Linked DNA regions of Homo sapiens: regions 1, 2 and 4 are each linked to region 3. Evidence: promoter capture Hi-C in 16 types of primary human blood cells and fetal thymus (Javierre and others, 2016). All regions are on one chromosome and are shown on one strand. Each heading gives the region's core, a stretch centred on a gene start or on the middle of the fragment in contact. The rest is flanking DNA. Distances are from core to core; before and after follow the strand shown. Region 1 has its middle 140 kb from the start of SMIM23. Region 2 has its middle 170 kb from the start of SMIM23. Region 3 holds the start of FGF18 (fibroblast growth factor 18). Region 4 has its middle 170 kb from the start of FGF18.

Region 1 (2,700 bases), core at 104-2,603, 220 kb before region 3:
TTCAACCTGCTAGGCTTGGGTTTGCAATCTATGGTCTTCTCTTTACCAAACCCTTGATGCTTCTTTCCTTAGGAATCCTCTCACCATCCATTTTCTTACTAGCCCCATCTCACAGATGGGGAAACCAAGGCTCAGGACCACATGCACAGAGCCACCGGGAAGGGATGGGCTGTGTATGATTCAAACTCAGCTCTGTCTGATTCCAAAACCCTGGTCCCTTCTTGGTGGCTGAAGCTGTGGCAGGGCCTGCCCTGGGTTTTCAGGCACGGAGGGTGGACTGGTGCTCTGCAAAGTCCTGCTCATCTCCCCGCCAGCAGCCAGGGCGGAGGATGCCTTTGTGTGAGCTCAGCATCTGGTTGTCAAATGCAGGCTGGCTCGGCTCCATCGTCAGGCTCCATGTGAGAAACGGGCACTTTAAACATTGCAGATGCAGCTGGTTGGGTAGGCAGGCCCTGAGAGAGGCGTCAAGGTTGACATACACCAAGGCAGGTTCAAGATGGGAGGGGACAGTGGGTCCCGCTCTCCCAGTCCCGCCCCACCTCCCCATCTCCCGGCCCTTCTCTCGTCTGTCCTAGTGGGCTGTCTGTCTGTCTGCTTGTCTCTTCTGACTCCTCTTTCCTTCTCTTTCTTTGTCTTCTCCCCTGCCTGTCTCCCAGCTCTCAGCTCTGCCCTCCGGACTCACTCCCTTTCCCTCCCCTTCTTTCTCTGTCTCTCCTCGCCTCCATCTCTTTCACTATTGCTCCTTTTCAAGCCCTCTCTGTCCTTTCCTTTCCCCCTCACAGTTTTCTCTCCTTTTCCCACCCATTATTCTTTCTTCTTTGCCCCCTCTCCCTCCATCTCTCAGAATAACATGCAAAAACCTTTCACTCCTGACTTCCTTCCCACATTCTCACACAAAGAATAAATAAAGAGAATGTCACCAACAAGCATCAACCACTGCGTTTCAATAGACCCTTTGCTCTTAGGAGAGGGACAGACGAATTTCTAAAAAAAAATTTTCTCTCTCTCTCTGACACATTCATGACTTGGCATCCTATAGCAAGTTAAGTATTTTTCCAAACACAGCTAAACTGGTGTGCAGAAAGCTAATGAATTCTGCTAAAAGAAGCTTTCATCTGCAAGTCACTAAAATGTTCTGTTGTTTATTCCCCACCATTTCTTTATTTCTCCACAGTCCTCTCCCCCTACACACACACACATACACACACACAAACACACACACACACACTCATATGCACCCTCCCTCTCACATGCTCACACACATTTCCTTATTGCCATTCCTTTGAAGGGAAAAAAATTCCGGATCCCAAATCTCTGGCAAGGTTCTCTTACAAGATCCTCGGGAAAAGGGCAACTAGTTTTTGCTTAGTGCCTTCTGAATTCCAGGGGACCCCTCAGCCTTGGCTCGGGCCCTCCCAGCACCCCTGCCAGGAGGATAGGCAACCCGTCATACAGATGAATAGCCTGCAGGTCAGAGAGGTGAAGTGACTTGCCTAAGGCCACAAAGACAGGCTAGAGTTGAAAGTCGAGTGTCAAAGCACTCCACATGGCAGTCTGGAAATTCTGCGGGTAATTTCTGAGCGCCAGAAATAAGCTTTTGAAGATCTCCTTTGAGTAAAGCTCATTCATTACTGCACCCAAGAGTATTTCCTCCCCTCTCACAGATAATAGCAACATCAGGAATTTTATCCAAGTTTCATTTACCTCATACCTAGTGTTTCATCTCATCCTTAGCTAACTCTTGGAGACCAGGAGGATGGGGTAGTTTCTACTGCCATTTTGCAGGCAGGTAGACTGAGCCTTGGAAAGGTAAAGTGACTTTTCCAGGGGTCCTCGGTTGATTGGCATGAGGGCAGAGGCTAGAACCCATGTTTCCGTGCCTTACTATGGATGTGGGTATCATCACCTGAGTGGGAGACTATAGAGAGGAGAGGTTTTCAGAGTGACACTGCAGGTAATTTTTTAAAAGTCTAATCTTGTTTTGTCAGTTGCAGACATCATTTATTTGACCTTTGACCCCAGTTTCCACATCCGCCAAATGGAGATAATAATTGCTGCAGGATTCAACGTCAGAAAAGGAAAGAAGTTGGATTTTAAACAATTCTGAATTTAAAAAACAGCAACCATTCCATAGACCCTGTAAGAGACATTACTAGTGCTCACGAATGGCTTGCTTGTCTCTCTGTCCAGGTGCGGGAAAGTCTGCATCTCCAGCCTGCTTGGCTCAGCAGGGCCAGGGGACTTGCTTTGACCAATGGGTGTGAGCAGAAGTTACAAATGTCACTTCAAAAGCATTTAATTGCTGGCTTGAGAACCCCCTCTTTCTCTCTCTTCGTCTTTGGCATTGACTGAGAAGACTTCCTGTTCCAGATGATGATGTAGAAGATGGTGGAATGTCCTTCCACCGGGATTGTGGAGCTGTTGCATAGAGAACAGTTGCCCTGTTCTCTGGCCTAGACCCAGAACACACTCTGCATGGTGAAAATGCAAGCTTTCTGTGAGAGCCACTGAGATTTGGGAGTATCTGTTACTGCAGCATAACCTAACTTACTGCAGTTAATAGTCACTATAATGTGGGCATGTAAGTTAAGGAAGAGTCTCTCAAAATGACTCAAATTAGTTTGCTTCCAGATTACCCATGGCGATGAGGGACACAGCCTACTTACCTGCTAAAAAACCCTTTGCCCTGCCTTTCCTGGC
Region 2 (2,700 bases), core at 132-2,631, 200 kb before region 3:
CCTGGAGCAGTAAGAGGTGAGGTATGATGGGGGTGACATTAGCTGAGCTCTCTTCATTCAAGATCACTGTTGAGGCACTGTTTTACTTAGCCATGGCCCTTCTCTGATTCCAAACCTGATCATCCATCCTCCAACCCACTTCCTGCCCATCCTACTTCCTGTATACTTACCTCTCCTCTGTCTACTCATCTTTCTATCCAGCCATCCAGTCACAGATACAATTCTTAAACAATCTACCCATTTACCCATCCCCTAAAATTTTCAGCCATCCATCCATCCTTCCACTGACTTACTCATTCTCCATCTATTTACTCATTCATTTTATATTTGTCCATCCACCTACCCACTCAGACATCCATCCATTCATCCACTGCTCATCCATCTAACCATCCATTTTTTGAACACCTACCTGTCCAATCATCTGCTCGTCCACCTTCCATCTGTTCATATATCTACCCATCTGCCTATCTGTTTGTTCATCCATTCAGCCAGCCAGCCATATGCTGATCTGTTCATAGACACCAAAATAAAAAAGACCAGGATTCGAATCCTTATGTCACCACATACTACCAGTAGCAGATACTTCATTTTTCTTCCCACATCCTCCCAGTCCTTACCATCTCCATGCACATAGGTCTGAGTTCCAACTACCAGAACCTAAATCTTTTTGCCTGAGGGCTTCCTCTGCAGCTGACCCTTGTCTGTCTCTATGTGTAGAAGGCTGGAGGTGATGGGGCATTAATACCCCTTGGAGGCAGCCCCCAAACAACGGCTAGCCAGAGTTGGTGTATAAATACCCCAGCTTCGTTGTCCTTGGGGGGGATGACTCTGAGGTGGGTGTTCTTTACTGGTGCCTGGAGTTCCCAGCAAGATTAAGCTCCATTTTTCCACAGTTGTCACTTGCTTGATATCATACCACTTTGTTATTTCATCTCCCAAATAAATTACTTGCATTTGCGTCCTTGTTTCAAGGTTGCCTTCTGGAGAACCCAGACTAAGGCACTACATGTGTGACTTGGACAGATTTTTTTTTTTACTGAGACGGAGTCTTGCTCTGTTGCCCAGGCCGGAGTGCAATGGCGCAATACCTGCTCACTGCAACCTCCACCACCCAGGCTCAAGCAATTCTGCCTCAGCCTCCCAAGTAGCTGGGATTACAGGTGCCCACCACCACGGCCAGCTAATTTTCTGTATTTTTAGTAGAGACAGGGTTTCACCATGTTGGCCAGGCTGGTTTTGAACTGCCCTCAAAAGATCTGCCCACCTCAGCCTCCCAAAATGCTGGGATTACATGCTTGAGCCACCGCGCCCAGCCGGACAGAGTATTTAAGTTAGTATGATGCATATCATTGGGTAAGCATTCAACAGAATTCGTTGTTGCTTTTATTATATACTACTATTGACAATAGTAGTAATACATAGGAGATGGCGGAGGTAGTGGTGATAATGCTGGAAGTGGTGATGATGGTGGTGATAGCGGTGATGGACGAGATGGTGGCAGCGGTGGTGGTGAGATGTTTTTGTAGGAGCTTGGCCACTTTCTGGGGTCTTCCTATGGATCTTTGCCAACCTTCTCACTTTGACTCTCCCCTGTGCCCACATTTCGAAGCACACTTTCCTGAGCAGGAACTTGAAGAGGAAGATCGTGAGGGAAAGGGCTGGGGGCTTGAGAAATGGCTCCCAAGTCACAGAGAGGGACAGAAGCAGAGCAGGAGCAGACGCTAAGCTAACAAGGCCTGGGCTTGTCAATAAGAGGTACTTCCATGCTTGCTTTATTTTCCTCTTTAAATCTCTTTCCATCGAGAGCCAGGAAGTGCTTCTCAAATGTTCCTTGTATGAAGAAAACAGTCAAACATTGTCTTCTGAGCTCTTCACTGCCCTGGGATGGCCTGGGCATCAGGGCCTAAGGGCCCTGAGGGGCTCTAAGCTGTGGCCCAGCAGCTGGAGGCCCAGAGAGGGGGAAGAACACCCTAGGGTCACCCAGCATAAGTGAGGCTAAAATGGGATCTCTTGGCTTCTCATTCTTACTTTAGCCAACACATCACAAACTATGACCCCTGAGCCACCCAGAGACAGAGAGGAAAAGAGTGAAAGGACCAGCTGGGCACAAAGACAGAAAAAGACAATAGAATACCAGGCCTCTGAGGTCTTGCAGCTTACGTTTCCCCCCCAACCCACTGGGGCCCTCGAGGAGCTTCCCAGTCCTTTGAGCCAGTTCTGAGTATTCCCCAAGCCCCACCTACCCCGCCCAGGGATCCCAGAATGGGAAGGACTGCAGTTCTTGGGAGACAGACTCTGGGTCTCCAGGGTGGCGTCGTGGCAGGGCCCAGACTCGTGCAGGGCCCCCCCACCCCACCCCAGGGGGTATCAGCCACCATCACATGCTGGGGAGAGCAGACAGGCAGGGGAGGAGTGGCGCCAGGCCCTGGGCTGGCCACTGCAGGAAGACCTGCAGGCACCTGCGGGCACAGCTCCTCACCCCTGCCTCTCTCCTGTGCAGGCCTCATTAACACCCTCCCTGGGGCTGGGGGTGGAGGACAGAGAGAAATAGCTGAGGCAGTGGAAAGAGTCCCAGCTTAGGCTCTTAACTGGTCGTGTGACTTTCACAAACCATCACTTTTCTGTGTCTCCAATTTTTCATCTGTACAACTAGGGTCACAGCACATACAAAACAGAGCCCATTAAGGGGAGCCCACATGG
Region 3 (2,700 bases), core at 103-2,602:
CGCGGGCAGCGGCCACTCGGCCTAGGCGCCCTCGAGCTTCCCCTCGTCCCGGGCATGTGTGTGTGTCTGTGTGTGTGTCTCAGTGCTGCAAGCGCCTTCAAAACCACAGAGTAATTTACAACTGAAGCTTTCTCCCTGGACTCGAAATCCACTCGGCTGAAAGTCTTTTTGTTTGGAAGCGGCGATGTTAAGGGAAGGTTGGCAGAGAAAATCCCTAGGTCCTACCCCTCGCTGGCTGCGGGCAGGGGTCTTAGAGCTGGGTATATTGTTGCGGCTGAGCCCGCCGGCTCTGCGGGATCTCCTCCCAGCCGAGGCCGACAGTGGCCGCGACAGCCAGCGCCTCCTCGGGCCCCGCGGCAGAGCCCCTTGCCCTTGGCCGGTTCCCCGCCGGCGCAGGGCGCACGCGGAGCCGCCCTTCCGCGCCCTGGGAACAGGTGCACTGGGCTCAGCGCCCAGGAGGGGTGGGGCACAGGGAGGGGGCGCGGCCGGGGAAGGGGGGTCGGCGTGTACCGCGAGGCAGGGGCGGGAGGAGGTCAAAGTCAGGAGCCCACGTACCTGTACCTGGAAGCACAGCAGCAGGAAGTGTAAACACCTGCGGGAAACAGATGGAGAAGCGGTCAGTGGGACCTGAGGAAGGGGGCGCACGGACAGACAGACACGCAGTCGAAGAGTCAGGTGAACCGACGGGCGGGCAGACAGAGGTACAGGGCACAGGCATACGGACAGACAGCCAGGCAAGGTGGGCAGCCCCGCGCGCGGGCGCTTACAGGCAAGTGCAGGCGGAGGGCGCTGAATACATCGCTGGGCGGGAGGGAGGCGGCGGCTCCTAGCCCAGCCTGCACATGTCCGCTCCGCGCGGCCGGGACCGGGCGCCTCCGCCGCCGCCGCCGCCGCCGCCGCCGCTGCTGCTGCTCCCTCCTCGCCGGCTGCTGCTGCTGCAGACTCTGCTGCTCCGGGGCGCTCCGCGGCGCGCCCTGCGGCATCAGCGCCCCGCGCGGCTCCTCCCGAGCGCTGCGCCCTCCGGGCTGGCGCAGGGGCTGCGGGGCGGCAGCCGCTGTGCAGGAGGCGCCTGGCCGGTGCGGGGAAGCTCGCTCACTGCTGGCCGGCCGGCCGTCCGGGCGTCCGTGGGAGGCTGGCTGCCCGGCTCAGTCCGGGGACAGCATGCGCGGCGGGTCTGGAAGCCGAGTTGCGCTCTCCGGCCCGGGCGCGGAGCTGCGTGGGGCCAGGGGTCAGCGCTCCGGGGTCGGGGCGCGCGGCTGCAGCGCGAAAGCGTCACGGCCGCTCCGTCTGGGCGCCCGCCGGCTCATGTCTCCTCCTCCGCGTCTCTCCGGCCGTGCGCATCGCCGCCTCCCACCACTGGCGGCGGCCGGGGCGTTTTCTACGCGCGGGCGGCGAGGGGGCGGGGGGCCGGGGGCGGGCCCGGGCCCGAGCCGGCACAATGAGGATGCGGGGCCTGGGGGCTCCCCCCTCGGGGCGCGGCCGGACGGGCGCTCAGCTCGCCTGGGTGCGCCCAGCCCACATCAAAGGCGGCCCTGCCTGCTCGCCTGCCTGCCGCGGCCTCTCGCTGCCTCCTCCTCCTTCTCCTGGCGGCTCGGGGTTGGAGGGGAGGCGCTCAGACTCTCGGAGACGGGACCGGCAGCTCCAAAGGGGCAGGACCCGCGAGACTGAAGCTGGTGAGCGCTGGAAGCCGTCGGAGCTCTGCGCCCGAGCGCAGTGACCGCTCCTCCGCGCAAACGTTGCCCAAATTGGGCAGGCGATGCTCCCCAAGAACGCAGTTAGGTACGGAACGTCCTCACCTGCCCACATTCGCTACTCGCACTCACTCACCAGCGCTCTAGTGGAGAGCCGAGAGGGGCGGGTCAAACCCAGCCCCGGGGCGGCTCCACTGAATGGGGGTCGCTTTTACCCGCCCTGCGATCGTGGAGTTTCCCAGCCACCCTCTTGACTGGCTACCCACTTAAGTGAGCCCCCGTCCTCTTCTTACGTCCCTGCCGCTGCGAAGGGGGCTCCCGGGCATCTCTCCTTCCCACCCCTCGCCCCCTCCGGGGCTCTGGGGTCGGTTCACGGGATCCCAGCTGGACTCTCCCGTAGGCGAGCCAGCTTTGGAAACACACGGCTACCACCAAGCGGCCCCGAGACGTCACTGCAACCCCAGCACGGACGGCTGCACGCCGGGGAGCAGCCAGCAGGACTCTGGTCAGCGACCACGCTGAGGCCCTCTTCCGGCCTCCTCCCAAAACCGGACTAAGACTTGCCTCCGTTTGCATACTAGGCAGCTTCGTTCCTTTAACCAGGGCCCCATTCAGGACACTGGTTCTTACCGCCTCTGCCCCTTCCAGAGGCATAACTCCTGTCCTTCCCACCAACCCCAAAACGTAGGTGTTCTTGTCACGTACCTGCCTCACTGTCTAGAGCTGGTGTCAGCCAAGCTCTGCTTGAGCCTGATGCTAAGGAAAATAGGTCACAGTGAGAAAGACGCTGGAGGACAGGCTCAAGCAAAACTCAGGAATCTGGACTATTTGGTTAAAGCCTCCTTGCGTTGGCAATGGTTGATGGTCCACTGGAGCATAAACTGAGGTAGGACTGTCGAACAGTGCTATTTGCTGAAGCCATGACTATAAAACATTAGTAATTGTTCCAAATATCAGGCCTCCTTGCAAGCTATTTTAAGTTCCCTTTCAAAGCTGAGGCTATTTTAAA
Region 4 (2,700 bases), core at 64-2,563, 170 kb before region 3:
CAGCACCAGCAAAGGCAAGAAGGTGAGCACACGCAGAGCTGGTGGCTAGATGGGCAGCTCTTTAATGGGGCTGCAGCCTAGAGCTACGTGGGAGGACGATTTGAAGATGCTTGAACTCTGCTCCTATGTGCTCATGGCTGAGGGCCTCCACTTCATTTATTCCCCTCCTTGTTCCCCTTTCTAACTTCCCAGCCTTTGATGAAGCTGGATACAGAGACTAAAGTGCAGAGAGGAGCAGATACCAAAGCTTTGAAAAACAGAAAAGCCTTCAAATACTGAAAGCAGACACCACAGACAGCTAGGGTGGGAATGAGTTCATTGGTAGGAGTCAAGCTGTAGTGCCCCGTTGAGGCTCATATTTTGGCTCCATGGGTGGCTCATTATTTTTATTCATTGATCCATTTATTCATTCAATGTTTATTAAGCACCTAGTAGGGACAGTGAGTTATGGGGCCTGCAAAGGCAAAGTCCTAACGCTCCGCTGGTTCACAAAGGTTGGGAAGTCAAGACATGCTTATTAAAAATTTAATTAATACTACAAAGGAACATAGGACAAATCTGGTATAAAGTAGGTGCTCGATAAATACTTTCCAAGTCATGCACAAGGATTTTCATTGCACTATTGTTTATAAAAGCATAAACTAGAAATAACTTAAGCTTCCCTCAATAGGGAAGTGGTTAATAAACTATGACATATCACCACTAAGTGTTTCTCTTTTGCTGAGAGGGTGGATGGGTGGATGGATGGATGGATAGATGGATGAATGGATGGACAGATGAAGGATGGGTATAAATTCAGAAGAGGAGAAGAGAAAAAAGGGAAGTAGGAAGGTTAGAGAAAGTGTCACAGAGAAGGCAATGTGAGAGAAAACGTCTGGCACATCGTACATAGTCAGTAGAAAATGAGTCCCCCCAGGGCATCTAGTAAAATAAACCATTCCTACCCAAAGATCCCCAGGACCATCCTTCTGTGCCTGTGAACACGTCTCCTCCACAGCGCCCTGGCTGCACCCCTGTCTCCTATGGCAGCTGCACTGAAACCTTGCGGATGCCAAACTTTCATGGAGATTTCATGGCAACAATGGGGAGAATGGCCCTCTCCCTCTTTGAGTCCTACAGCAGGGCTTCCTGGGCCCAGTGTATTACAGAACTTCCCATTCTACCCACACAGCCTGCTGCTAGCTTGTTGCTGAACCCAGATATGAAGCCACGGACTTGGGCTGGGGACAAATCCAAGGAGTCATACCTGTGCCCTTCTTGGGACCTCCCAGGTCAGCCCTCTATGCCCAACTCCTTCTTAAGTTCTTATTCTCTCCAGGAAACTCCTCATCGCTCCTGTACGTCATGTCTGGTGGGTCCGTACGCCCAGTTCAGCAGACCTGCTCAAAGGCATGTCTGATTTCCATGCGTATTGAGTCAGTCCTACCCCTACATCCACCTGCTGCCCTGCCACATGCACACGTGTGTGTACACGCATGCTCGCTCGTGTGATTTAATCAGCAAACTGACGTTTGGGGATTGGTGAAAGGAATGGTCCTTAAGATGAAACTCTCCTTGCACTAAGAAGACACCCTAAGCAGCTCCCTCCTACCTCTGCTTCTCACAAAGAAAGGACCGTCTCTTCCCTGTGCAAGCACCCTAACCAGATTCCACAGGGAAGGGGGTTCCTCTGCCTTGTGACTGCCCCTACCCCCCTCTCCACTAACAAAGAGGACAAAGCCAGGCACACCTCCCCTTCCTGTCCACTAAGTACAGGTTTGCTGCCTCCTACATGAGCCTCATCTTACTCAACTATTTGCAGCCTCTGAGCTCAGGGGAGCCATGACAATTCTGAGCTTTGACCTGCCGAAAGATTCTCAACAGACATCAAATTGCTATATTCTCACCTTGACACTGAGAGGTGCCAAAGGGAAGATTTTCATGCCTGTTTCATAAGCGAAGACCCCGAGGCCTTGGCTGTGAAGCTTGTGCCTAAAGACATAGTAGAGACCGTCAGAGTGTGTTCCTGGGGTTACCCGCACCTGCTTATCGCTGAGACTATGAAGACCCACCTCTTAAGGATCGGGGCAGGGCTGGTTTTCTGAAGGCTGAGGATTGTAGTGGAAAGAGCACTGGCTTTGGAGCCAGCTAAGCCTGGGTCCAAATCCTGCCTCTAGCACCAGTTCCTGGGTGGCCATACCCTCACCACCACCACACCCGCAAATATAATACCTGAGAGGGGGCAAGGATGTCATCAGAAAATACCTTAGGGAGCAACTCAAACACCAGGTTAAAAAAAAAAAGCCACACACCTAGATATGTGCAAAAAGCTGTTTTTTTGTGTTAGCATCAGAGATCACATAGTACCCAGAATTCCAAAGGAGAACCATTGCCAGGAAGGCTGTGGGAGCTCCTAGTTTGACCATTAGGACTCAAAAGTTGTAATGAACTATAGGTAACTTGGGGCTACCAAACATTTATTTATCCTCTGTATGAGTACCCTAAATCCCTCAGAGAATCACCACTCCCCCTTTGCATGGAGTCTTGGTGGAAACCCAGGGGCTGGCTAACCATTAAGAAAGCCAACGGACTATATCCTTTATTTTGTAGGCCTGGTATGGTAGGAGGCAAGTATATGACAGCCAGAGGGAACCTCCTTCTAAAACTTTGCATCTTCATACCACAGAAAAGGGAGAATGGCAAGAGGACACTCATCATTGC

Evidence for each region. The method cuts DNA at HindIII sites, captures the fragments that hold promoters and counts their contacts. A CHiCAGO score of 5 or more calls a contact.
Region 1: a fragment that was not itself captured here is called in contact with the fragment with the promoter of FGF18 in region 3 in 1 of 17 cell types (endothelial precursors); the score reaches 5.5 in endothelial precursors.
Region 2: a fragment that was not itself captured here is called in contact with the fragment with the promoter of FGF18 in region 3 in 1 of 17 cell types (endothelial precursors); the score reaches 6.9 in endothelial precursors.
Region 4: a contact is called between a fragment that was not itself captured here and the fragment with the promoter of FGF18 in region 3, in 1 of 17 cell types (endothelial precursors). The highest score is 5.1, in endothelial precursors.

What each region holds. Positions count from the first base shown.
Region 1 is chr5:171,642,394-171,645,093 of GRCh38, reverse strand. No RefSeq gene overlaps it. Among named protein-coding and RNA genes, the nearest start is that of SMIM23, 140 kb to the left of the region's middle. RefSeq lists enhancers at 1-313, 314-815. The HindIII fragment of the contact is 486 bases long and covers 1,111-1,596 here.
Region 2 is chr5:171,619,074-171,621,773 of GRCh38, reverse strand. No RefSeq gene overlaps it. Among named protein-coding and RNA genes, the nearest start is that of SMIM23, 170 kb to the left of the region's middle. RefSeq lists an enhancer at 2,388-2,700. The HindIII fragment of the contact is 5,155 bases long and covers 1-2,700 here.
Region 3 is chr5:171,418,299-171,420,998 of GRCh38, reverse strand. FGF18 (fibroblast growth factor 18) reads right to left here and starts at 1,352. Exons shown (of 5, transcript NM_003862.3): 1 at 768-1,352; 2 at 556-592. The coding sequence starts at 799. RefSeq lists silencers at 846-925, 986-1,035, 1,176-1,285, 1,406-1,515. The HindIII fragment of the contact is 2,658 bases long and covers 130-2,700 here.
Region 4 is chr5:171,588,333-171,591,032 of GRCh38, reverse strand. No RefSeq gene overlaps it. Among named protein-coding and RNA genes, the nearest start is that of FGF18, 170 kb to the right of the region's middle. The HindIII fragment of the contact is 1,307 bases long and covers 660-1,966 here.